6 separate regions of the Homo sapiens genome follow, and all the other regions are linked to region 1. The links are contacts of gene promoters, found by promoter capture Hi-C in blood cells and fetal thymus (Javierre and others, 2016). All regions are on one chromosome and are shown on one strand. Each heading gives the region's core, a stretch centred on a gene start or on the middle of the fragment in contact. The rest is flanking DNA. Distances are from core to core; before and after follow the strand shown.

Region 1 (4,372 bases), core at 1,251-3,750:
TCCATAAAAGAGCTTTCACGCTTCATTCTCTGAAACTAAGTTGAGGCTTAGACGGAAAGGAGAAAAGAGACTTTTAATTTAAAGTAATGATCATCAACACTCAGGTGCTAGAGGGTCTCTGGGGAAAGGGGGTCCCTACCCCACCCGGGGTAGCGGGAGGGAGGCCGCCTCTCTGCGCCTAGCCGGGCGGGCCTTGACTTGCTAGGATTGGTGGGCCAAATCCCATCTCCGGGGAGCCTTCAAATAACTCTCCCATGGGGAACTGAGGAGGCGCGGGAGCCTAGGGCGGAAAAAGCTGAAGAGCCGTGGTCCCGGAGAAAAGGAAGTGAGCAGTCTCAATGGAGGCCCGAGCCTCTCCAAGGCCACCCTGCAGGCAGCAGCGACTTCTTCCTGGGGCAAAAGTCGCGCACTACCTGCGGGAACGTCCGCTGCCAGGGCGCCGCCCGGGACCCCAGAGCATACCTGGTTCCCTTCCTGGTGGCCGGTCCTGTTTGGGGCCAAAGTTTGCATGCGATGGGCACAAAGGACTCTGCGCCTCCTTTCCCTAACCCCAAGCCCTGGGCGGTCGGAGAACCCAAGACGGGTTCAATCCCGAAAAGCAAACTTTGTTAACTTCTGGCTGAATTTGGCACGGCGGAGGGGGGAGTGGGCAATAATCCCTCCATTCTCCCCTCCACCAACACCCAGGGTCCCTCACTTACATCGCAGTCCCCAAGTCAACACTCGACTTGTCACTTTGCACCACAATGCGGTCAGCCCTGTGAGGACATGAAGAATGGATATGAAACTCGAGGCCAGATAAGCGTGGAACTAGGTTCAGCCGTCCTCCCTGGGGTACCTACCTCCCTACTCCCGACAGAGCTGTGAGCCTCCGCCTGCTGAGAGGAGGGCACTTGGGCGGACCTGAAGTTAAGAGGCCCGGGGTGAAGGCCAGAGCTCAATCTGCAGGGATAGAAGGCGCGGGAAATCCAGCAAAGGATGGAAGAACAGTCCCTGCCAGGCCGCGGCCTCCTCGCCCCCGCCTGCCCGGCCTCACCCTTCTGGAAGTTCCTCCAGGCCTGGGTGGGGGCCGCCAGGGAAGGCGCAGAGGGAGGGCAAGTTGGCGCCGCTAGTTTTAGAGAAATCCTAAGTAAACAGTGAACCCGAGCAGGAAACCTCAGCTTTGCCTGGGTAAGAGAACTGGCCACACAGCTCCAAGAAAGGAGAGGAGGAGAACAAATCTCTGCGCCCTGAGGATGGTGGCTTTATTGCGGAAAGAGGTGGTGGGGCCGGAGCTGCTCTGCAACTTCCTCTCGCCCCCTCAAAAAAAAAAAAAGTATCCCGCAGCGAGGATTTCAGAAGGGGCTCACCTGGTGCAGGAAAAGTTCAGTTGGCAGCCCTTCGCGAGCAGGTCCTCCCCAGCCCGCACCGAGAAGGCAGGCGCCCGGGCCCTCTGACTCCAGTGGCTCAGAGCCGGCTCAGGACTGGCAGGGCGAGGAGCCGGCGGGCCGAGCCAGCGAGGGTTTGGGCTGCCCGCGGTGTGTGTGCAAGAGCGCGCGCCTCGTGTAACCATTCAGGACCAGTTGAAGCAACACAAATAAAGTCAGGTCTCTTCAGCCTTGCTGTCCACCCCTCCCCCTCTTCCTGGTTTGACCCTGGCCTGGCCGCTCTGAGGCCCAGTTTGCGCAGCCGACATTGCGTGGCTACTCTCATTACCAGGGGAAGGGCGCTCCCCTTTTCCCTGGTAATACTCCGGGAGCCCCTACTCGGAAGCCCAAGAGTCAAAGGGATACAGGGGTGACTGGAGAGCAGCGGGGGACAGCGTGGCCTCACCCAAGGTCAGCGCTGGTCCCCACGTGTCGGCCGGGGGAGGGGAGGGGAGCGGACAGTCGGAGCGTTCGGATGTCCAGTTGAGCCGCGGCGCGGGGCAGCCGGGGGCGCAAAGTTGGAGGCAGGGCTGGGCGACGAGGAGAGAGGGAGGGCCGGGAGCCGAAGGGACGCCCGGGTGCACCCCGCTGCAGAGGCCGAGTCCGAGCGGCCGGAGAAGGCTGGTCGCAGAAGGGCGGCCTCCGGTGCAAAAAACGGAAACCTTGGAGCAGAGGATGAGGAGGAATACGGAGGCGGGGAGCCCACAGAAAAAGATGTTGAGGAAAGAAGAGGAGACCCCGGCCTAAACAAATCGAAACTGTGCAATGAACGTGGCCCGGGAGAACCGGGGGTGAGGGGCGATGGCTGGAGCTGCGGCCCAAGCACAGCTTTCAGACGCTTGCCCGGACCCTGGCGCGGGGAGGCGGCCGGGACTGCCTTTCTGCGCGCGTCCCTGGAGAGCGGGTGGGCAGGACCTGCGCCCCGCGGTGGGCAAGAAGATTTGGGGTTTCGCAGTTCCTGGGGTCGGGGGCGGGGGTGAAGTGCCCTCAGAGACCTCGGCGGAGCCCCAGTTGCGCTCCCATCTCCAGCCCCCACTGGAGAGAGGGGGTCCAGGGCCGTACCCTCCTGCGGCCTGGGCTGCGCTGACCGGAAGTGCCTGTAAGAAGCGCCCTCCGCGGACCGTGCCGGGCGCGGGCAGCTCCAGCCGGGTTGGAGCAAGGCCAAGACGCCCGGATGGGGCGGGCCGTTTCGGCGGACCCAGTCTGGACGCAGGTGCGGGAGGAAAGTGTGAGGGGGGAAACTGCTGATTGTGCGGGGATAGGGGCATCTTAATCTGGGAAAAGATCGGAATCTCTTGGGACGCTAATCTGAGACCCGGGTCGGAGGTGTAGAGTAGGGGTGTGTGAGCAGGAACTCGGACCTGAGTTACAGAGTAAGAGGGAAGAGGGCTGGAGAGGTGCTGAGGCTACTCCTAGTTAAGACTGAAGGAGAGGAGAGGAGGGATAACAGCCCTTCACGCAAATCAGTGCTCCCCCTGCTCCCCCAGGTGCCAAAGTCCAGGACCAATGTGGAGACTTGACACTGCGCTATGCGACTGCGAATCATTCTTCTATTTATAAGTAACTACAGTATAGACTTCAACGTGATTTGGTGAGACCTTAGCAGGATGACCCTGGACCTCACTTTTCTTATCTGTAAGGTGGGGATTATAATAGGCAACACACAGAAATGTATGTTGTTGAAGGAAATAAATTGTGTTAAATGGCTAGCAATGTGCACGGAAGACCCTCAGTGATTAATGATCATGTTAATTTTGAATTTCTGGGAGTGACATCTTCTGAATTGCCTGCACTCTGCTAAATGGACAAGTCCTGTACCTGGAGGTGAAGGGGCGGGGGAAGGGCAAGGAGAGCCCTGCTGTGGTCGTTACTGGGACTCGCTTTTGTTTTCTTCAGGATTCAGTATTGAAATTGGGAGTGTGGAGGCGGCTTCTCCCCAGCTCTCTCCGTCCAGTTTTCCACTGTGTTCTATTTATCAGATGGCAGAGCCGTGGGTCTCGCTGCAGGAAATGGTTGCTGTCAGGGCCCGATTGCTGCTGTCAGGGCCCAAGCCCACTCTTGCAGTAGTCGTGGTTGAATCAGAAATTCTCCTGGGTCCCTTCTGTCTTTGGACTCTCATCTCTCTCACAGGAGGCTCCCGCCCCTCTGCGCTGGTCCTGGAGGCCTGCAGACCAGGTCTTCAGGAGGAGGGGAGGATGCGAGCACCCCAGATGGAGCTTTCTCCGTGCGCTTGTGTGGTGGCAGGGGGCAGAGAGGAATCTAAGTTGTGCCCGGCTTTATACCCCACTCCTCATCAGAGTTGAGGAGGGGGAGGCGAGTACTCACTAGTCTCCTCTACAATCCCCTGCCCCCTCCTGGCACTCCCACCCACCTGCCTGCCAAAGGCAGAGTCACAGGCTGTTGATAAGAATACTCTCTTCAGGATGTGTGTGCATGCACACACACAATACATTTCTGCTTTTCTATTGGGTCACACATACCTAGAGTCTTCCATTACTATAGCCTGAAATCTTCCCAAATGTCCTCAAAACACCCCACCCCCATACCTGTGGGGAGAATTCCAGAGTGGAGGGGCCCACTCCATCTCCAGAGTGGCACCCAGGTGGAGAAGGCTGTATTCGAAGCAAATTCAAGGAGCAAATTTTAATGGCCCATGACTTACCAAGCCTCTGAGAAATCTGTTTGGGATGTTTACCTCCTCTTGCCCTGGGTCTGCTCCGGTCCCAAGAGCTACAGCTGGCAGAGCACTGAGTGTACTTGCTGGTGGGAGAGGGTTGTAGCATTGGGTCTGTGTCTGAGCACAGGCACCTGGACTGGACCAGCTGCCTCCAGGGGAGAGAGAAGGGGCTGCCTCTCCTTTTGGTGGCTTCCACAGAAAGGAGAGGGCACACAGGTCTGTCCTGAGCCCTGGAAACAATGTCTTTTCCCTCCCCTGGCTAGGGGTGAAGCCCACCAGCTGGGGCATG
Region 2 (4,372 bases), core at 540-3,039, 810 kb before region 1:
GTGAACCCGGGAGGCGGAGCTTGCAGTGAGCCGAGACAGCGCCACTGCACTCCAGCCTGGGCGACAGAGCGAGACTCCGTCTCACAAAAAAAAAAAAAAAAAAAAGAAAGAAAAAAAGTTCCCTTAAATCGGGATAATGAAACATTAAAAGAATCAGAAATACTCCCTTTTTAAAACGCCATTAAGCCCCATTATTCTTTCTTGTCAGTTCATTCAGTCTCATGTAATAAATTTTTGTTCTGTTTGATCTTGGTTAGCAGTTTCACAAACCCATCAGTCTCATTAGAGTTCTAGAAATTCTTACCCAGTCCAATGGTATTAAAAAAAAAAAAAAACCTTAAAGTTATCAGAAACCTGTACTTGCCAGGGTTCTTTCTATCCTTATTATGAACCTCCTTAAAGACATACAAATATAACTCGAAGAAGGTTAAATTCCATTTCTTATTTGACAAAGTTTCTCATGTAATTTAAGGAATCAAATAAGCTGTTTAATCTGTTTAATATCTCTCTTTTGCATTTCCAGGGGCCCTCTGGGCTGTCCAACAGCTGGTTCAAGGTCAAAAGGACTTAATTTTATAATTTGATTTTAGGAAGTTTGTCGAAAATAAACTTTCAAAACACTTGATCAAAAGTAGGATCACAGGCCACTATGAAACAATAATTATTCCTTTAACCAGAGTTTTAATTAAGAGAAGTTGCAAGGCTGGGGGAAGTGGCTCACACCTGTAATCCCAGCAATTTGGGAGGCCTAGGCGGGATGATCGCTCAAGTCTAGGAGTTTGAGATCAGTCTGGGCAACATGGCAAAACCCCGTGATATGGTTTGGCTGTGTCCTCACCCAAATCTCATCTTGAATTCCCATGTGTTTATGAGAGGGACACGGTGGGAGGTAATTGAATCATGGGGCAGGTCTTTCCTGTGCTGTTCTCATGCTAGCAAATAAGTCTCATGAGATCTGATGGTTTTAAAAAGGGGACTTTCCCTGCACAAGCTCTCTTCTCTTGTCTCCTGCCATGTGAGATGTGCCTTTCACCTTCAGCCATGATTGTGAGGACTTCCCAGCCACGTGGAATTGTAAGTCCAATAAACCTCTTTCTTTTGTAAATTGCCCAGTCTCGGGTATGTCTTTATTAGCAGCGTGGAAATGAACTAATACGCCCTGTCTCTACGAAAAATACAACAACAACAACAAAAAATTAGCCAGGCACAGCGGCATGCTCCTGTAGACCCAGCTACTTGGAAGGCTGAGGTAGGAGGATGGCTTGAGCCCGGGAGGCAGAAGTTGCAGTGAGCGGAGATCATGCCACCACACTCCAGCCTGGTGAACAGGACCAGACCCTGTCTGGGAAAAAAAAAATTGCATATTTGTAGGAAAAAACCCTTTAACTCAATTTTCTTAAGTAATCAGAGACCTAATAAAGACAGTATGAAGCATAGGAAATTAACTTGATAAAACACAAAATCTCTCTTTCTCCTGCTTACAGGTTCCCTCTTTCCTTGCTTCTTTTTAGTTCCTAAGTCCATATTTTGAAAGAACCTTTAAATAATATCAAAATTAGACAAAATTACTTTTTTCCCAAAGGGAAAAAAGCATACCTTTATGCCTTTCTTATAATTTTTCTCAACAAAAACACTCTCACTTTCCTGCTTAGCATACTGAATTGTTCCCTTTATTTCTAGTAGTTTTAATTATGTATACTAATTATACTTTTTAATTCTTAGCAGTTGCAAACCAATTCTGTAGAGTAGGACCATTTCATAATTCCTAGAAATATGTGCTTCCTGAAGGTACAAATTTTCTTTTTTTCTTTTTCTTTTAGAGATGGGGTCTCTGTTACACAAGCTGGGCTCAAGTGACCCTCCTGCCTCAACCTCCTGAGTAGCTGGAACTACATGCATGTGCCATCTGTTTTATCTGGCTAAAGTACAATTTTTCAATGTGGAATAGAACACATTTACTAACAGACCTAAATGCATTTTGTCTTTTTGTACAATTCAAGAAGCCAAAAACAAACTTAAACTTACGTGCAGCAATTAATGTTTCAGCATTTTATCATACTTAGAAATGATTCAGACATTTCATGAGAATCTATTAATTATAACACAACTTTAAGTTATCTACAAAGATTTTTGAAACCATGAAAATTTTATTTATAAACTTTTATCCTGTCTATATTCACCTAGTCTACTCATTCTTAACAATAATTCTTGAAGTGCCCATTAAACAAGGCTAGCCATCATTTAAGTTATTTCTGTGTTAACCTTTTTTGTTTTGTTTTGTTTTGTTTTTTGAGACGGAGTCTCGCTCTGTCACCCAGGCTGGAGTGCAGTGGTGCTGTCTCCGCTCACTGCAAGCTCCGCCTCCCAGGTTCACGCCATTCTCCTGCCTCAGCCTCTCGAGTAGCCGGGACTACAGGTGCCCGCCACCACGCCCGGCTAATTTTTTGTACTTTTAGTAGAGACAGCGTTTCACCGTGTTAGCCAGGATGGTCTCGATCTCCTGACTTCGTGTTCCACCTGCCTCGGCCTCCCAAAGTGCTGGGATTACAGGCATGAGCCACCAGGCCCGGCCCGTGTTAACCATTTTTATAGCATGCAAATGCTAAGCATGAACTCTAAAGTTAAATGCATGGGTGTTTTCCTGATCACAAGACACAGTTGTTTTTATTTAAACAACAATAGTAATAAACTAATCCTATTTACCGAAGATTTACGCAGATCACATGAACTAAAAGGCATTAAAATATTTGATCTAACTGCTTAGGTTTTCTTCAAGCAAATTAGAGCTTTTTTTCATATATTTTAGTAGAGAAATATCACATACACGTAATACATATAGACATATGGACACACAGAGAGAAGCAGATCTTACAGCTTTTTAAAGATTCTTCTAGGCAGTCATGGTGGCTCATGCCTGTGTAAACCAGAGTATCTAAGACAAGTCTCAATCAATTTAGGAAGTTTATTTTGCCAAAGTTAAGGATGCACCCATGATACAGCCTCAGAAGGTCCTAACAACAGGTGTCCAAGGTGGTCGGGGCGCAGCTTGGTTTTATACATTTTAGGGCGACATGAGACATCAATCAATATATGTAAGATGTACATTGGTTCAGTCTGGAAAGGTGGGACAACTCAAAGTGGGGAGGGGGCTTCCAGGTCACAGGTAGACAAAGAACAAATGGTTGCATTATTTTGGGTTTCTGATTAGCCTTCCACTGAATCAAAGGAAGCAATCAGCTGTGCATTTGTCTCCTGGGAGCAGAGGGATGACTTTGAGTTCTGTCTGTCCTTTGTCCACAAGGAATTATTTTGTGGACAAATTGTGAGGGAGGTATGTAGGTTTTTATCTTTGTAGCCATCCTATTTAGGAATAGAATGGGAGGCAGGTTTGCTCTTTGCAGTTCCCAGGCTGACTTTTCTCTTTGGCTTAGTGATTTTGGGGTCCTGAGATTTATTAATTTTTTCATACCTATAATCTCAGCCCTTTTGGAGGCTCAGGTGGGAGGATCACTTGAGGCCAGGAGTTCAAAGCCAGTCTGGGCAACAAAGTGAGGCCCCGTCTCTACAAAAAAATAAAATTAGCTGGGCATGGTTGTGTGCTCCTGTAGTCCCAGCTACTCCAGAGGCTGAAGTGAGAGGCTTGCTTGAGCCTGGAACTTCAAGGTTACAGTGAGCTATGATTGTGCCACAGTACTCCAGCCTGGGTAACAGAGTGAGACCCTGTTTCAAAAATAAATAAATATTCTGCATTTTCTAGTTTTCAAGATCTCTCTCTCTCCACTTTAGACTATCAATCTTATGATTGCTTATTCCTTGCTCTAAACAATTGTTAGGTAGGTGACCTTAAATTTGCATTGCCAAAGGCATGACATTTGTGTGAAACAAGGTGAAAAATTTATAGAACTTAGGTCTAAATGCCATTATTTGCTGAGATAAAGAAGGGCATAGGTAAGAGACTCAGTTAAGACAAGATGGTGAGGAAAATTACCTTAAACAAGAGTAAAATTTGTTATGTAAGCTTTAAGCCAATGTCTTTCCTATTGTTGTTTAGGTACAGAAAGGAAGATACCTTTAGAAATGCAGATTTCATTTATAGATGTAAATTTATTTTTACAAGGAATTTCAAAATAGCTAGCTAAATGCAGAAAGTTATATTTTGGAAACCAAGTTAGTTCAACGGGCAGTCTTTTCAATTTAGCTTGTTTCTTAATTAGATTACTGACTTTAGGATGGAGTTCTTCAATGAACAGGGCTAAACAAAAAGGTCAGTAGATTTAATTTTCTTATCAATCACTTAAGCTTTTTATTTGGTATTTTGTAAAAAGCCATTCAAAAGATGCAATAAATTTTTTCTGAAATACTTTTAGAAGCT
Region 3 (4,372 bases), core at 869-3,368, 790 kb before region 1:
TGTCAGACACTGACTCAGTGGTACTGGTGTCTTGAACAGAAGAGACAGGAAAAGCGAAGAGAGAAGTCATGGTTTAAGTTTATTCTTGCACTGCGATGAAGAAATACCTAAAACTGGGTAATTTATAAACAAAAGAGGTTTCATTGGCTCACGGTTCTGCAGGCTGTAGAGGAAGCATGGCTGGGGAGCCTTCAGGAAACGTACAATCATGGCAGAAGACAAAGGGGAGGCAGGCACATCTTCAAATGGCCAGAACAGGAGGAAGAGAGAGAGTGGGGAGTGGGGAGGTGCCACACACTTTTAAACAACCAGATTTCATGAGGACTGTATCAGGGGAACAGAACCAAAGGGGGAAATCTGCCCCCAGGATCTAATCGCCTCCTGCCAGGCCCCACCTCCAACACTGGCGATTACAATTTGACATGCGGTTTGGGTGGGGACACAAATCCAAAGCATATCGTGGTCTATATGAAATGAGTGCATACCCTAAATGCAAATTGGAAAATAAAGTATTGCTACAGAGACACACTCAGTTGCTAACTCAGCTAGTAAAAAAAGTACTTGAACATTCGTTCTTTTCAGAGTAATCTATGACATGTCTCCTGCTTGGAAGCCCCTCCATAGGTCTCAGAGATGAGTGCAATGTCTTTATCATGGGCTACAAGTAGGTGCCCTCTCTGGCCCATGCCTGTTTCACACCACAGCCCCCCGGTCACCTCCTGTGATCAACCTCTCTGGTGTTCTCTCAGATCCCACATCTCAGACCAGGCCCTCTTATGGAACACTGTAACTTTTCTTGATAGCACTCACTGCAAATGATTAATGCTATGTAGAACATTGGTTAACATTGTATTGAAGTATAACATATTCTCTACAAAGTGCCTAACCTTGAAAAACTTTTACTTGTGGATAAATCTGAGGAGCTACCACCCTGATCAAGTCGTGGAACATTTCTAGCATCCCAGAAGGCTCTGTTCCTGCTGTTTAAGCCACTTAGTTTGTGGTACTCAAACACCTAGTTAGTAGTTAGGGGTGTTCTCGCCACCACCACCTCCACCTCAGTGATGCAGGTGACCTGCCAAGGAAGCCAGAACATTTCCCAGCAGAGCTGTGCCATGCCCCACGTGGAAGGAAGTCTGTGGGGGCAATGGAGCTGTGGGTCTGGCAGCCCTGCTATAACACCAGAATGAGCTAGCCACCAGTGACAATGTTTGCGGGCTGTGGTGGCACCTAGCACGCTACACCCACATTCAGAACATGGCAGAGGCAGCTTCCCTTTTCTGCTTGCCAAACTTCACACAGATCGTCTTGTCAGCCCAAGCAGAACCACCCAGGGAAGGGGATTCTGCTAAACATAGTTCCCATTTAGCTAAGTCGCCACTGTACCAACCACCACAGGGGCATCGTTTCTGCAGAGAAGCTCTTTCAATGTCTTGCGTGGGGAGCATACAGCAGGCTCCTGGTGCCCTGGTCAAAGACGGGAGACAGGATGGGGCTCTGGCCATGCGTACGTGGACCTCTACTAATCTTCAGTTTGGGGCACAGAGCCTCATCCATTGCCTCTACTCTGACACATGTTCCAGAGTTGGGATTCTGGCCCTCTCAGGGTCTCCAGAGAACAATTCTCTGGTTACTTGTGAGAATCAGGGGGTTGGTGATGCAACTGTAAAGGATGGGATTGAGCCGGGATGGGTCCAGTGGCTCTAACAGAGGCTTTCAGACTACCTCCCTGTTTTCAGCTTTGCCTGAGCCTTAACTCCTGCTCTCCAAGCTACCTGTGCCTCAGCCCTGAAGTGGTCAGAGTTCTAAGCGGTGAATCGCTCTCTGCCATTACCCCCACTGGGCTCCAAGGTGTCTCTACATTCTCTCCTCTACAATGCCAGACACCAGTTCTCCATCTCTTTTTCCACTTCTAGAAATTTGTTGACATTTTTCACTTGCTGTTGCTAATTTTTATCCACTGTGGTCTTTTCGCTTGTTCTCATTGTCCTTGCAGGTTAAAGATACATATATATTTTTAATTATTTTCCTCACACTTCAGTTGTGTCTCAGAAGGAAGTCAATGCATACACCCAACCTACCATTTTAAACACAAGACTTAAAAATATATATTTTTTCTATATGTTATTGGGGTATAGGTGGTGTTTGGCTACATGAGTAAGTTCTTTAGTGGTGATTTGTGAGATTTTGGTGCACGCATCACCTGAGCAGTATACACTCACCCTATTTGTAGTCTTTTATCCCTTGCCCCCCTCCCAACCTCCCCTCCAAGTCCCCAGAGTCCATTGTATCATTGTTATGCCTTTGCATCCTCATAGCTTAGCTCCCACATATCAGTGAGAACATACAATGTGTGGTTTTCCTTTCCTGAGTTACTTCACTTAAAATAATAATCTCCAATCTCATCCAGGTCGCTGCAAATGCCATTAATTCATCCTTTTTATGGCTGAGTAGTATTGCATTGTATATATGTATATATATACACACACATATATATATATACACACACACATATATATATATATATACACCACAGTTTACTTATCCACTTGGTGATTGATGGGCATTTGGATTGGTTCCACAATTTTGCAATTGCGAATTGTGCACCTATAAACATGTGTGTGCAAGTATCTTTTTTGTATAATGACTTCTTTTCCTCTGGGTAGATACCCAGTGGTGGGATTGCAGGATCAAATGGCAGTTCTTCTTTTAGTTCTTTAAGGAATCTCCACACTGTTTTCCACAGTGGCTTTACTAGTTTACATTCCCACCAGCAGTGTAGAAGTGTTCCCTGATCACTGCATCCATGCCAACATCTACTGTTTTTTGATTTTTTGATTATGGCCATTCTTGAAGGAATAAAGTAGTATCTCATTGTGGTTTTGATTTGTACTTCCCTGATCATTAACGATGTTGAGCATTGTTTCATATGTTTGTTGGCCATTTGTGTATCTTCTTTCGAGAATTGTCTATTCATGTCCTTACCCCACTTTTTGATGAGATTTTTTTTTCTTCTTACTGATTTGTTCGAGTTCGTTGTAGATTTTGGATAGTAGTCTTTTATCGGATGTATAGATTGTGAAGATTTTCTCCCACTCTGTGGGTTATCTGTTTACTCTGCTGACTCTTCCTTTTGCCGTGCAAAAGCTCTTTAGTTTAATTAAATAGCTATTTATTTTTGTTTTTATCGCATTTGCCTTTGGGTTCTTGGTCATGAAATCTTTGCCCAAGCCAATGTCTAGAAGGTTTTCCAATATAATCTTCTAGAATTTTTATAGTTTCAGATCTTAGATTTAAGTCCTTAATCCACCTTGAGTTGATTTTTGTATACGGCTAGAGAAGAGGATCCAGATTCATTCTACATATAGCTAGCCAATTATCCCAGCACCATTTGTTGAAAAATGTGTCCTTTCCCCACTTTACATTTTTGTTTGCTTTGTTGAAGATCAGTTGGCTGTAAGTATTCGGGTTCTTTTCTGGATTCTTTATTCTGTTCCATTGGTTTATGTGCTTATTTTTATACCAGTACCATGCTGTTTTATTGACTATAGACTTATAACATAGTTTGAAATCAGGTAGTGTGATGCCCCCAGATTGGTTCTTTTTGCTTAGTCTTGCTTTGGCTGTGCAGGCTCTTTTTTTGCTTCCATATGAATTTTAGAATTGATTTTTCTAAACCTGTAAAGAATGATGATGGTATTTTGATGGGGATTGCCTTGAATTTGTAGATTGCTTTTGGCAGTATGGTTATTTTCACAATATTGATTCTACCCATCCATGAGCATAGGATGTGTTACCATTTGTTTGTGTCATTTATGATTTTTTTCAGCAGTGTTAAACACAAGACTTTTTTTTTCTACTCGTTCTTTAACCCACAGCCCCTTGGCTTTGTTCCCAACAAACTCCTGGTGTAATTCTCCACCTCCTAATTTCCAGGTCAGTAGACTCTTTCCAACCATCACTTTGCTTGAACTTTCTGCATATCTGGCCTTGCCCACACCCACACCCCTGTCTTCTGCTCCTACCTAGTGGATGCTGTCTCCTGTGCCAGGTCTCCTGGAACCCCCGATCACTCCCTCAGTTTCCTTTGCTGGCTTTTCTTCCTTTTCACTCTCCTTAAATGAAATTCCCTATAGCTTAATCTTTGGATCTATTTGCATTCTCACCATAGTTTTAATGGTCATGTTTACAGAATGATTCACAAACCTGTATCAATCAGGACCCTTTGTCTCAAGTAATAGAAACCTGATTTCAGAAACAGAAACATAAATTTGCTTTGCACGCAGAAAGAAGGCCGAGGCAGCCCAAGAAACGTGAATGACAGGAAAGCCTACTATATGCTGTCTTATGTTACTTCTCTGTATTGGCCAAC
Region 4 (4,372 bases), core at 1,041-3,540, 650 kb before region 1:
TCTCAATGCCTTGCGCAGAGTGTACCCCACCCCTATATTTCTCTGTCTGGTGTAAGTGCACACACGCATGCACACACACACACACACACACACACACACTCACAAGCTTCTTCATACTGGCTGGGATCCTCTTCATTCTTTCACTTTCATCTCATCTTTTGCAATATTTCTTTATTCTCTTCTTCCTTTCCCTGCATTTCCTTTCCTCTTGCTCCCTCTCATTCCCTCTTTTCATTTGGCTGCATTTCCTTATCTTTCTGATGAAGATTTCTCCTCTGCGCCCTGCCCATAATGGGTCCTGTGATCTGGGCAGTTGCTCCTCTGTCTCTCCAGAAGCACTTGTCCTAGCTGGGTTATCCTGTCCTGCAGTCATTTACTTCCAAGTCTGTCCCATCATCAGACTCTGGGCCCCTCGAGGCAGGGACTGTGGCTTGGTCGGCTAGCAAATAGGGGAGACTTGGTAAGGTTGGTGGAAGGAGGCAAAGACTCTTTTTGTGATTCAAAGTCAGTCTTAAAAACTCCAAAGAAGCACCTGGCCACCACTAGTTCCTATGCGGTTTATAAAAATTCGAGAGGCACCTCCTTCCTCCAGCCAGGGAGTCTGGCTAGCTGCATGGAGGATGGGCTGGGCTTTGGCCCTCATTTGCTCCCTTGGTTCAGGGCCTGTGCGTAGGGCGCACTCCATAGCTGTATGAGTTATGCTGTAGAGTAGCCAAGGATGCAGACATGGGCTGCCTGGGCACTGGCCACTTGCTCCTTGAAGTGGACCAGGCTTCTGCTTTTAAAGAAGTCCCTGCCATCAAGCTCCTCCTCGGTCATGTAGCTATTTCCCACTGAGCCTCAGTGGGATGTGGGTAGCTGCCACCCAGTGCGACATAGCTGCCTGCACCCCCATGGACATGCAGTCATTTGGCAGTGGTTGCTACCTTCAAGGCAGTAGAAGGGAAGAGTGCCTCCTTCCTCATTTGCCCTGAAGCTGCCCCCATAGAATGACTTTTCTGCTTTAGTATTTCCCTTGAGGTGATTGTGGAGAAAGGCAATCATCTGTCCAGCTTCTTTTATTAAGTGCCTACTACATCAGGTACTGTGCAAAAGTTCTTTGTTCCTCACAAATCTCCAGGAAGTAGGCAGAGTCTCCTCATTTCAGATATGGAAATCAAGGCTCAGAGGAAAAAAGTAAGAATGGAAGATTCTTTCCAGCACTCTGTTCTCCTCGTTTCCAGGGATGGCACCCGACCTCTGGCGTCTCTGAAGATCCTCTTTGGTATCTGTCAGGCCTCAGCAGTTAGGTTGGAAGGGGCACCTCTGAGTTGGGTAAGAGATATGGTTTGAGAGACTGGCTGGGTTACGACTTTGTTTGGCCAAAGTTTGGGCCATATCAAAACCATATAGACACTGGCCTGCTAGAAAAGCGTCCCTTTTCTCCATGCCAAAGAACAGCCAAAAAAAGATAGATCAAAACATCAAGCTCCCGGGAGGCCACACACATTTGAAGTCGCTTCTGTTAATATAGCTTGTAAAAATATAAAACACATTTGTCACTATTTTGGAAGCAAGGAGGCAGAAAAGGTCATATTTTCATCTCTTCAGGTTTCCAATAATAGAATGAACGTTTGGAGTATTTTTGTTTTGTTTTGTTTCCTGCTCTTTCAATGTGTCTCAATGCTCTCAAATTACTAGTATTTCCACGATTTCCTGAAATTTCAGTCTTTCACCCCCCACCAAGGGCTGGTGTTTACCACAGCCTCAAGCTGGGCTCTATCAGTTTGCTGGCAAGTGACTACTTAGAGAACTTTAAAAAATCCATTAGGAATGGCAGGCTTGTAGGGATTGAGGAATGGGGGAGGTGAGCATACTCCACAGAAAACACAGGATGGACCCAGGTTTGAAAGACTGTCCTGCCACTTATGAGGCAATTCTGAATCTCTCCCAGCCTCGGTTTTTCCATCTGTAAAATGGCCCTGACTGTGAGTGCGTCACAGGGACACTTTGAGGAATGAATGATATCACACAGGTGAAGAGCATGGGGCATTACTTGGACCATATTGGGCTTTCCCTAGATGTTGTTTAACTTTCCTTTCCAGTTATTCTAGTCACATTGATCCTCTCTCTAGGGTGCTCCTATGTGACACTTGCTTGACTTAGTTCCAGGAAATTACTAGTTCTATGCTTAATGACTAGATTTTCATTTACATGCATTTGTCTTAGACTCCCCACTTCAAGTGGGATTCCATCAAGGATTTAAATTGGCTTTGAATTTCCCCCACTGGGCTGGACATCCTGGGTATTGCCTCTGTCTTTGAAGTGTCTTTTTGAAGTGGCTGCAGATCACAGGGAATGAAGGCTCTTTATTTGTATTTGATGCCATATGGCCACTAGATGCCCTTGTCTCTTAATTACATAGGACCACTGTAAACCTTTGACAAAAGGCAGTTTTGCTTGGTGGTTACAAGCAGTGAAATCTGATCTCAGCCTAGCCTCTCTCACTAAATGTTTACTCATTGATGAGTTGCTCAACCTCTGAGACTCAATATTTCCACTGGTACAATGGGGATAATGAAAATCATCTCCCAGGATTGTTTAGAGGAGACCACAGGATCAGAGATGCAAATAATTAGCCCAGGGTCTGGTACAGAGCCGCTGCTCAGTCAACGATAGTTATTATTATTTGTGGTTGATATATTTATCCCTAATGTGCGAAAGGTCTATCTATCTATCTATCTATCTATCTATCTATCTATCTATAATCTATCTAGCTATTTATCATCTACCTACCTACCTTGTTAAATATCACTAGCCATTTCCATTATAATCCTCCTAAGAGACCATTTATGAAACAATGCCTCCAACAACTGAGCAAAAGTCGTGCTGCAGCCAAATCAAGGACCATTATCTCCCGTGCCAGTTGTAGACCAAATTCATTTAATTTGCTAATTTCACCCTTAGAAGTTGTTTAATGCCAGCCAACATTTGGAATTTTTATCTGCACTTTGCAAAGCAAATGACATAGTAAAATACATTAATATAGGCAAATATCTAATTAGGCTTAAAAAGTTAGATTCTACATGTAACAAAGATTTGCACTCTTAAGAACAAAGTAGCTGTTGCTCCTTTAGAAATTTTATTAACTGTCTTCCCTCATTGTGTGAAGGAATACTTTAATGAGGTTCTCATCTGTTTATGAAATAAATATTTGTTGAGTCACAGAGGATATGAAGACATGGTCCCTGTCCTCACAAAAGTCTCAGTCTAGTGGGGAGACCAACCTGGGTCAATACACCTGTGCTATGGGACAGGTTTATAGAAGTGTTGTGGAGGCAGAGGGGAGGGCTTCTTATCACACTTGGAAGAAAAGGGAGGTCAGGGAAGGCTTTCTGGAGCAACAGAGATAACCCTGCAGTTTTACAGAGGAGGAAGAAACACACTGGGTATGTTGAGGGATAGTAAATGGTATTATGGGTGGGGGGCGGGTGAAGGAGGCAAAGCAGAAAAAGGCTGAGGTCCCAGACAAGTGGCTAGAGTCAGTCCAAGAAGTGTGGACAGGATCCCAGGAGGTGCAAGAGGGGAAGCGATGTGATCGATCTTGTGCGTTAGATTACTGGGAGGATGGAGGGTGGGCTTGGGAGTGCGGGGTTCTGCTGAAGCAGGAGATAGGGAATTGCTTTTCAAAATGTGGTCCAGGGACCGGGAACATCTGCATTACCTGGGAGCTTGTTAGAAATTCAGACCCTTTCTCCCCACCCTGGACCAACTGAATCAGAATCTGCATTTTAACAAGGTCCCCAGGTAATATATATCCAAACTGCACTGTAAGGCTCTTGAAAGGTTGGACTAAACCAGGATGGGCAGTGGCTTTGGAGACAGACAGAAGGGGAAGAGTTAGAGTCCTGTCTGAGCCTCTGGTTCCACTGAAAGTGGAAGGACCTAGCAGGGAGTAATGGAAGAATTTCTTGGCAAGTTCTCTCTAGAAGCTACTGTGTAAATGGGCATGTTGTGCCATCAGATCTGTAAATTAGTTAGCTGTCCAGAGTTTATTAGGAAGTCCTAAAATGTACTAAAAGAGAATGTGACAGGTGAATTATTTATGCAGGGCTTTGCTCAGATAGAGTACTAGGTAAACACCATTTGAAGTGAGTGGGATCTTCCTTAGCTTGTTCTACTAGCTTTAAGGGTATGTAATGTGCTTGGGGGTGGGGGATGGGGTGGGGCTATGGATGGATAAAGGATATTGGACGAGTGGAATGTCTGGCAAGGCCATGGGGTTGGGGGAGCGGCAGTGGTGGTGGTAGGTGGTGACCTTTCTTTTAGAATAGCTCCATTCATCCAGACATTCATATGTGGAGTATTATACCAGGCATTGGGAACATAGAGA
Region 5 (4,372 bases), core at 1,051-3,550, 630 kb before region 1:
AGCTCCAGAGCAATGCAGATACTGCTGGGGCCCAGCTGCATTTTGAATAGCAAGGCTTAGAGACCCAGCTCTGGCTGCTTCTGGCTGTGCCCTGCTGATGGGGTGAGGAGTCTTGAGGGTGAAAGGGTAGTGCCCATATGGAGGCCATGCCCTCCACCTTCTTGGCCACACTCTGGGTTCTGGGACCCTGAGATTCCCTTCTTGAATGGCTCCCAGCCCTCAATCAGGACCTGCATGGACCTCTTTTGTGGACCATCCTTCCCGAGGCTCACTAGTCAGCTGAAGCATTGGCATAGGTGTATACGGGAGGGGCAGAAGCAGCTTGGCCTGAGGCCCAAGGCATCCACATACTTGTGCGTAGTGTCCAGCAATCAGCTGACCAAGCTCTGCACGTGATTGTGCTGCACACTCAAGTTGAGAGCCACCTATGTAGACAAAGCAGGACCAACAGTAAATATCAGTTTCTTGGAAACCATCCCAAATAATCTGAGATCAGTAATCTAGGAGTAGTGTCGTTTCTCTTCCTCTGACAACATTGCAAGGCAGCCTCCCCTCTCTTTCCTCTTAGCTCTACTACTAGGTTTTGAGTTTGGACAAGACAGCTCCCCTCTCCAAGCTTCCAAGTTTTTAGCCACAAAGTAGGAGCTGGGCTACCAATCATGAGCATGTTGCCAGAGTCTCTTGTAGACTGTAAAGTCAGTGAATCTGAATAGATCTCCCTTAAAATCTATGACATGTCTTCAGCTTCACTTATTCACATTAAAATCTCACTGATTAGTGTCATAAATTTTCTCTTTGAGCACACATATACCCCTGGGTGGGATAAGGGTCAAAGAGCTGCATGGGACAGCACTTCTCAAATGCTGACATGCACATGAATGGGGGTCTTGCTAACGTGCACATTCTGATACAGGAAGTCTGGGGTGGGGCCTGAGAGTCTGCATTCATAGCAACCTCCCGGGTTATGCCAGGCTGCTGGTCTGGGAGCAGACTTCGATAGCAAGTGTCTGTGGTGGCAATAAGTTTGATCAGATTGCTTCCTTTTGAAGACCTTTGATAAATCTGAGAGGAAAACAGTGTTTTATGGAGGCAGAGAAAAGAGGAGGAATTAATTGATAGCAGGGTACACAAAAGTGTATCTTTTGTTAGGTAATCAGTGAACTGTGACTATTCATAAGAGAGAGCAGTGGGGACTGTAGCAAACTGGAGAGAATGGGCCTCAGTGACGGAGTGGGTGCCACTCAGCTCTAGTACCTTGGCACCATGAAGCCACATGACCCCTAGTGCCAGATCTTCCAGCTTTTTGAGATAATCCAGTCACTGAATTCTATGAACTTTTTTGATTTTTATATGTCAATTACTTCACATCAAACTAACTGGCCAACTAAAAACCAACTAGTATCATGTGAGCCAAACAGAACGTGTATGAAGAACAAATGGTGTGTGAGTGAACAAATTCTAGATGGGAAAGAAGTCCTTCCTGGGCCCTGGAGGTTACAAGGGTAGGGAGAGGACACTTCCTGAGTATAATAGGGGTTGGGTAATAAAAAGAAAGTGGGAGGCCTTGGAAGACCAACATGGCTACTTCCAAAGATGTTGCCTACTTACTCCGTCTCTCCCTCCTAGAGATGCTGCAGAATTTCTCCCTCTGGAGCTTGAGGTAGGAGGAAATAAAGAACAAGGGGCTCACAGCTGAATCTGGATTATGAGTGAAGTGTTTCTACTCAGGGGTAGGGAGGGGACCCAGGCCCCCTGTCTCCCTTGTGGTAGCACTGCTGTCCAGTGACCCTTGGGGAGTGTTTTCTCTATCCATCTGCTGAACTGGCTCTTTGCTCTTCATGGGAGGCTCTGTGGACACAGGATGTTTAGGTCCCTGTAGGTAGCCTTGTGGATGGTAAGATTCCAGAGAGTATCCCTGAGGGCAAGTTGGATACAATGAGTTGGAGAGACTTCATCTAGTCCACTCTCATTTTGTGACAATCTGAATCTCACTGAAGGTCTAGATGGAAACCAAATTCTGGAGGTCAGGTTTTGGCGTCCCCTTCAACTTCACCTCTAGGTTATCAGGAGAACTAAATGTGAGCATGTGTGAAACATGCTTTGTAAACTATAAAGCACCACAAATATGTCAGTGATTGTTAGGAGGTAGCAGGAAGTCAGCAAGCTCAGTTAGTATCCCAGCTCTTACTAACTCTGTAAACATAGTCAAGTGACTTAACTTTGCCAGACTTGTCTCTCCACCTGTAAAATGGGGTGCATAAAGCCTATCTTACCTCTGTGAAGATTAAATGAAATAGTGCATATAAACTACTCAGTATTTCATCTGACCCAAAATAGCTGCTGCTCAATAAACAGTAGCTAATATTATAGTTATTTCTAATATATATAAATACTTCATTTCATTTATACTTTTAAATGCTTTTTAAAATTATGCAAGTGCTTTTCAAGTCAAAAATCAGAAAATTCTGATGAAAAGAAAATAAAAATCAGTTATGATCCCCATATCTGGAAGTTAGTCACTGATACCAACTCCGGACACTTTTCTAGACTTTTGTATACACATTCTACTGTAAAGATATAATTACAGTGTTTTACAACTTGACTTAGCAACATATTACGAGAAAAATTCCACATCAATAATTATATTTTATGTCATTTAAAAGAACTGCAGACTCTCCCACTTCTGGGGAGATGGAGTAGATAAAATTTTCCTTATTCCTTCCTCTGAGTACAACTAGAAACCTTGAATATTATATATAAAACACGTATAAGAAGACTGAAAAATGGATAGAAAAAGGCAGACTGGATAGAGGCTTCAGGACCTAAACAATGACTCACTGATGAGTTTCCTGGTTACTCTGTTGTTGTTGTTGTTCTAACCTTATATATCCCAATGTTAGAGCTGAAGAAGCTGAGAACCTGGAAACTCCAAGAGGCACAGACCGAAAAATAAATAAATAAACAAACAAACAAACAAATAAATAAAGGCTTTCTAGTAAAGTTTCAGTAAAGGGGAAGCCTAGCAAGGTAGAATATATTTACACGATAATTATTACACTCTGGCCAAACGCCACAGGATAAACTGTGGACCAGTCCTACACATGCTAGCAAAGCCTGTCATGAGGTGCTTCAACACCCACACACAGGAGCAGTGTTAGAGAAGGCCAAATAGGGAGCCAAGACTCTCAGCTCTGCCTGATATCAAGTTCTCCTTGCACCCCAACATCACGATGTTAGTGGGGAGCAAAAACTCACCCTGCCCAGCAGTAAGGATGAGATTCCTTCCATGGGGAGTGGCTGAGTGGGGAGCTTGGACTTCTACCATCACGGAAAATAATGAAGTAGTATCTCTCCTCTTCCTGCTGGAGTGATGTCAGACAAAGCTAACTATAATAGAAGACTTAAATAAGATCTAGAGGTTCTTAACGATATAAAAATATGCAGGTTTCAAACAAAGATCACTTGTCATACCAAGAACCAGGTAGGTCTCAAACTAATGAAAAGACCATCAATAGAGGTGAACACAGAAATGGCAGAGATGTAAGAATAATTTGACAAGCATTTTAAAGTAGTCTTCATAAAAATGCTTCCATGAGCAATTATGAACACCCTGGAAGCCAATTTAAAAATAGCAAGCCTCAGAAAAGAAACAGGAGATCTCAGCAAAGGAATAGAGGATATGAAGAAGAACCAAATGAGAGTTTTAGAACTGAAAAATACAATAACCAGAATAAGAAGCTCAGTGGATGAGCTCCACAGCAGAATGGAGGAAACAAAGGAAAGAATCAGTGAAGTCAAAGAAAGAACAATTGCAATTTTACCAAATTTAAGCAGCAGAAAGAAAATAGACTGAAAAAAAAAGAATAGAGGCTCAGAGACCATGAACTGTAACAAAAGATCTAATGTTGTGTTACTAAAATCTTGAAGGAAGAAAAAAAGGGTGAGGCTGAAAAAGTACTTGAAAAAATAATGGCTAAAAATTTCCAAGCTTTGGCAAGAAACAGAAACCAACAGATTCAAGAAGTGGAGCAAATCTCCAACAGGATAAACCAAAGAAATCTACACCAAGGTATGTCATAATTAAGCTTCTAAAAACTAAAAACAAAGAAAAAATCTTGCAAGCAGCCATAAAAAAAAGAAAATAAAAAGATGCCTTGCTTCCAAGAAAAAAACAATTAGAATGGCAACAGATTTCTCATCAGAAACCTTGAAGGCCAGAAGAAAGTGGCACGGTATTTTTCATGTGCTGCAAGAAGAAATCAAGACATTCGAGATGAAGGAAAGCTAAGTGAACTTGTTGCCAGCAGATCTACCCTAAAAGAGTAGCTAAAGGAAATGCTGCAAACAGAAAGGTCATGATAAAAGAAGGAAC
Region 6 (4,372 bases), core at 1,054-3,553, 520 kb before region 1:
GCTACCCAGTCTAAAGTGCTCTGGTGCAGCAATCTACACAGATGAAGACAGGAAGGAACGCTATCTTATTGTTCCCCGCTCATCCCTGCAGAAGCTGAAGAGTTGCCTGTGAACAGCTAGCGCACATCCGTGGGTTGCCATCACAGAGGAGAAAGACTCGTTCAGTTTTCCTTGGTCCACCTGAATTTGTTTGCCCCATGTGTTGCCAGTATGGAGTCCCACCTGAGTTTGTACCCTGGTTTCTTCACTTCAAAGCTGTGTTTCTTGAGAGAGATACTGAATCATTCTAAGCCTCAGTGTCTTCGTCCCTTAATTGGAAACAGGAATACCTGCCACACGGAGCTACCGAGGGTTTGATGAGATGACGTGTGTAATGGTTCTCAGAGGAAGCATCCGAAAAGCACTCTTTTTCTGTGAGCCCAGCTGAGATGGTGTAGTAACAAGGGCCCAAAGGCTGCTTGGTACCAATTCATAAAAAAACAAAAAAGTGAAGGTAAATCATTTTCTCCATTAACATCCTAAAGTGGGCCAGGCTCAGTGGTTCATGCCTATAATCCCAGCACTTTGGGAGGCTGAGGTGGAAAGATTGTTGGGTTCCAAGTTCTAGGAGTTTGAGACCAGCCTGGGCAACATAGCAAGACTCTGTCTCAAAAAAAAAAAAAAATCCTAAACTGCACACATTTTTCTTTTCTTAAAACTTTGGCACATGTCTTCTGTAAGTGGTTGCTGTAATGGAATTGAATATATCCGAGTTTCATAGTGTTTATCTACTCATTCATTATTCCACAGATATTTATAGTGTGCTCACCATATGCCAGGCACTTAGTAGGTAATTGGATACAGCAGTGAGTAAGACAGACAAGATCAGGGTACCTAGGGAGCTTCTATTCTAAAGAGGCAAAGAAAACAAGCTAACAAGCAAATACAGACTATAATTGCAAATTGTGACAAATGCTATGAAGAAAATGGAAAGAGTGATGGGATAGAGGATGTTCCACCCAAAAATTATGATTTCTGGGTAACTGGCCTTCTGAACAAGTATGAGAACAATCAGTGTATGTGTGACACCCAGCCAGTACACAGAACAGCTGGCTCCAGTTAACTATTGCTGTGTAACACAACACCCCAAAACTTAGCGACTTAAAATAACAACAGCATTTACTTTGCTTGCAAATCAGCAATTTGAGCATGGCTCCGCAGGGACAGCTCATCTCTGCTCCACTTAGCCTCAGCTTGTGGGGATCAAAGGCTGAAGGTGGGGTCATGTGGAGGCTCTCTCATTTACGTGTCTGGAGGGTGATGCTGGCTGTCAGCTGGGACCTCAGCTGGATCTGGGGCTGGAACATGTGGCCCTTCCACCAGGGGGCTACCTGGCTTCCTCATGGCCTGGAGGCTGGGTTCCAAGGGCAAGCATCCTAAGGGTAAGATAACTAGGCAGAAGCTGTATTGCTTTTTATGATCTAGACTTTGAAGTCCACAGTGCCACCTTTGCCACATTCTATTCATTAGAGGTTAGTCACTGAGGTGAACCCACATTCAAGGGGAGGGAATAGACTCTGTTTTTCCATAGGAGCAGTGTCAAAGAATTTGTGGACATAATTTCAAACTGCCTAAAGCCTCAGTTGAAGAGATGAGAAGCATTAGTTTTGAAAACATGATCAAACACACTTGACCTTCATATGCCATCTCACTTGCCAATGGTTTTTTCTCCCTCTGGTTTATCTCCAGCCTAGCCACCCTGCCATGATGACAGGACTAATTTTTCTGATCATGCCCTGGAGGCTTGTTTTTCATTTTGTCCCTCTGTCCTTCCATGGCCCTCAACTGTGCTAGAAAAAGCCCAGGTTTCTTATCCATACATTCACAATTCTTGCATATCTGGCCTTAGTCTCCTTCCCTACTTTATTTCCTAAACCAGTGAAGGAAGGATGAAGGCTGAAGGCTGAATGTAAAGACAAGACCGCTTCAACCAAGTTAGTCCACTTATTTACACCTAAATTACCTACAGTGTGCATTTCTTTGTCTGCTACTTTCTCCATCTGATAGTTCCCCAGCACCCAAATTCTATTTATTTTTCAAAACTCAGTCCAAGCTTCTCTCTTACATGAAGTTTTTCCTGACCAAACACCATTAATAACAAGTAATAGCTGATAATTATTGAGTACCTAATGCAAGCCAGCAATTTTACTAGTGACTTTGCATCTATTTCCATTAATTCTCACAACCATCTTGCAAGTTTCCTATTTTCCCGTTGAACAGATGAGAAAACCAAGGCAAAGAAATTTTCTCTGGGTTATCCAGCTAGTAGTATGAGATGCATTTGGGATTCAAATCTGTCCATCTGCCTTGAATCCAACACAATCTCTATAAAGTAGAAAGTGATAAGTAGTTAAGTCATGAAGGAAAAGCACTGGACAGTTCAGTGGTCTTGTTTTGGGGGAGTTGAGCTAATCAGGAACGTGAATGTCAGTGACTTGGTGTCTCCAGAGAAGTAAACAGACCTATCTCAGGTTGAAAGCTTTTGTTTGTCTGTTGGCTGCATCATACTCTGGCCAGCTGGGCTCTGAGGAATTTTTACGATTTTGTTAGGTATCCTAATCGCCAACTTGCAAGTAGTGCCTTAAGGTCAAGGGGGGTCTAATGGTTTAATGATAGAGAGAGAAGAATGGGCTAGGAATGAGACAGCTGGGCTCTTTGGTCTACCTCCCCAATTTTGAAATAGATTCTTATTGGGCTATATAAAAAAATATGCCCACAAAGTCCTCCCTTTCTTGGATGCACTCCCCTCACAATGTGTCTTTGCTGCCTTTCCCAAGAAAAAGGAGGGGGATCTGATGTGAATTGGCCTGATGTGAACTTGCTTTGCCCAATTGAATGGGAAGGAGCCATACGATCAAAGTTCTGAGATTATGCCTTAAAGAGCCTTGCAGCCTCCTCTTCACCCTCTTATAACTCTACTCTGATACCGCCATGCTAGGAAGAAGCTGGGATGAAGACCAAGTAGAGAGAGGCCCAGCCATTTCTGCTCTCCCTGTTGCCCTGGCTGAACTCAGCCCCATCTGAAATCTGTTGAGTGAGAACTGACCAGCCAACCACAGAATCTTTGGGAAAGGTAACCTGTTGTTTAAAGCCACTAGCTTTTGGTATGGTTTGTTACACAGTAATAGATAACTGATACACATCGTTGAGATTCCACTAGGGAAAGGGAATTTGAAGAGCCTTTGGAATATATGTATGGAAAGGAGCTTTGCCTGTGGAAATTGAATGGAATGGGATGAGAGAGAAGGCTCATCATCTCCAGGAAGTCAATAATAATGGAAGAAAACAGGCACATGAAAGAATGTTCAAACCAAGAGTTAATATTCAAATAGTGAATAAAATGAGAATCATAGAATCAGAAACTCCAGGCCTGGGAGAGCCTTCTGTAACCAGGTGTTTCAGGGATGACAAATAGGTTTCGGTGGTTGCCCACTCGAACGGATTAGTTGTGGCTGCCTGGAGTGCTGTGCTGAGAATGCTGAGGCTTTGTCCATTTTCAACAGAAAGGAGGGCTGTGATCAATTAGTGATGTCTGCCACGGGTGCGAATCTTACTTCAGTTATTCAAATGTGCAAAGCTCTTTCCAGTCTCAGCACATTTTCCCATGCTGCACACTCTATTTGGAATACTTTCCCCACTCCACCACTGTTTTTCTAGCTGGTTTGGAGACAAGATGTCTCTCTGTTGACCAGGCTGGAGTGTAGTGGTGAGATCATAATTCACTGTAAACTCGAACTCCTCCATTCAAGTGATCTTCCCACCTCAGCCTTCTGAGTAGGCAGGACTACAGGCACACGCTACTACACTGGGCTAATTCTTTTTGTAGAGTCAGGATCTTGCTATGTTGCCCATGCTGATTTCAAGCTCCCAGCCCCAAGTCATCCTCCTGCCTCAGCCTCCCAAAGCGCTGAGATTACAGGCATGATCCACTGTGCCCATCCCATCCATTAAGTTTCAATTTTAATGTCACTTCTTTGTGGAGGCCTTCCCTGCCTGAAGCAAACCACTTCTATTAATGTCTCTTGGTTGCATGCCTCATAATTTGCCATTATATGTATGTGTGTATTTGTTTTCTCACCCTTTTCTCACAACACACTCATTTAACAGCAAACTTCCTGAGGAAAGTACCCTGTCTATTTCTTCCCAGCTATTTACCTAGTACCTGGTATAGTGCTGAAGTGGAAGAAGTGCTTAATGCTATTGTTGAATGGCTGATTGAGAGATTGCATGGATACTGAGTTCGGCCATCCTGAGCTAAACCAATTTCCTCTTCTAACCTGGAATGCTTAGGTCACATGCCTGGAACATACAGTCTGTCAAGCTACAAACTCTT

Evidence for each region. Contacts are between HindIII fragments. The CHiCAGO score rates a contact against its expected background, and 5 or more counts as called.
Region 2: a fragment that was not itself captured here is called in contact with the fragment with the promoter of LINC01956 in region 1 in 4 of 17 cell types (erythroblasts, naive CD4 T cells, non-activated CD4 T cells and 1 more); the score reaches 6.2 in erythroblasts.
Region 3: a fragment that was not itself captured here is called in contact with the fragment with the promoter of LINC01956 in region 1 in 7 of 17 cell types (activated CD4 T cells, total CD4 T cells, non-activated CD4 T cells and 4 more); the score reaches 8.3 in activated CD4 T cells.
Region 4: a fragment that was not itself captured here is called in contact with the fragment with the promoter of LINC01956 in region 1 in 1 of 17 cell types (M0 macrophages); the score reaches 5.4 in M0 macrophages.
Region 5: a contact is called between a fragment that was not itself captured here and the fragment with the promoter of LINC01956 in region 1, in 14 of 17 cell types (M0 macrophages, M1 macrophages, naive B cells and 11 more). The highest score is 12.9, in M0 macrophages.
Region 6: a fragment that was not itself captured here is called in contact with the fragment with the promoter of LINC01956 in region 1 in 1 of 17 cell types (endothelial precursors); the score reaches 6.2 in endothelial precursors.

The regions. Positions count from the first base shown.
Region 1 is chr2:118,833,646-118,838,017 of GRCh38, forward strand. It overlaps LINC01956 (long intergenic non-protein coding RNA 1956), which reads right to left and starts at 2,501. Exons shown (of 3, transcript NR_199712.1): 1 at 843-2,501; 2 at 702-758; 3 at 55-487. RefSeq lists an enhancer at 1-127. The HindIII fragment of the contact is 14,254 bases long and covers 1-4,372 here.
Region 2 is chr2:118,023,428-118,027,799 of GRCh38, forward strand. No RefSeq gene overlaps it. Among named protein-coding and RNA genes, the nearest start is that of CCDC93, 12 kb to the left of the region's middle. The HindIII fragment of the contact is 4,453 bases long and covers 1-4,016 here.
Region 3 is chr2:118,039,831-118,044,202 of GRCh38, forward strand. No RefSeq gene overlaps it. Among named protein-coding and RNA genes, the nearest start is that of CCDC93, 28 kb to the left of the region's middle. The HindIII fragment of the contact is 6,011 bases long and covers 1-4,372 here.
Region 4 is chr2:118,188,254-118,192,625 of GRCh38, forward strand. All of the region lies in intron 4 of LOC105373578 (a long non-coding RNA gene), which reads right to left. Among named protein-coding and RNA genes, the nearest start is that of THORLNC, 4.1 kb to the left of the region's middle. The HindIII fragment of the contact is 4,372 bases long and covers 105-4,372 here.
Region 5 is chr2:118,207,751-118,212,122 of GRCh38, forward strand. LOC105373578 (a long non-coding RNA gene) reads right to left here. Exons shown (of 5, transcript XR_923249.3): 2 at 352-425. Among named protein-coding and RNA genes, the nearest start is that of THORLNC, 24 kb to the left of the region's middle. The HindIII fragment of the contact is 3,372 bases long and covers 615-3,986 here.
Region 6 is chr2:118,312,336-118,316,707 of GRCh38, forward strand. No RefSeq gene overlaps it. Among named protein-coding and RNA genes, the nearest start is that of THORLNC, 130 kb to the left of the region's middle. RefSeq lists an enhancer at 3,600-4,100. The HindIII fragment of the contact is 426 bases long and covers 2,091-2,516 here.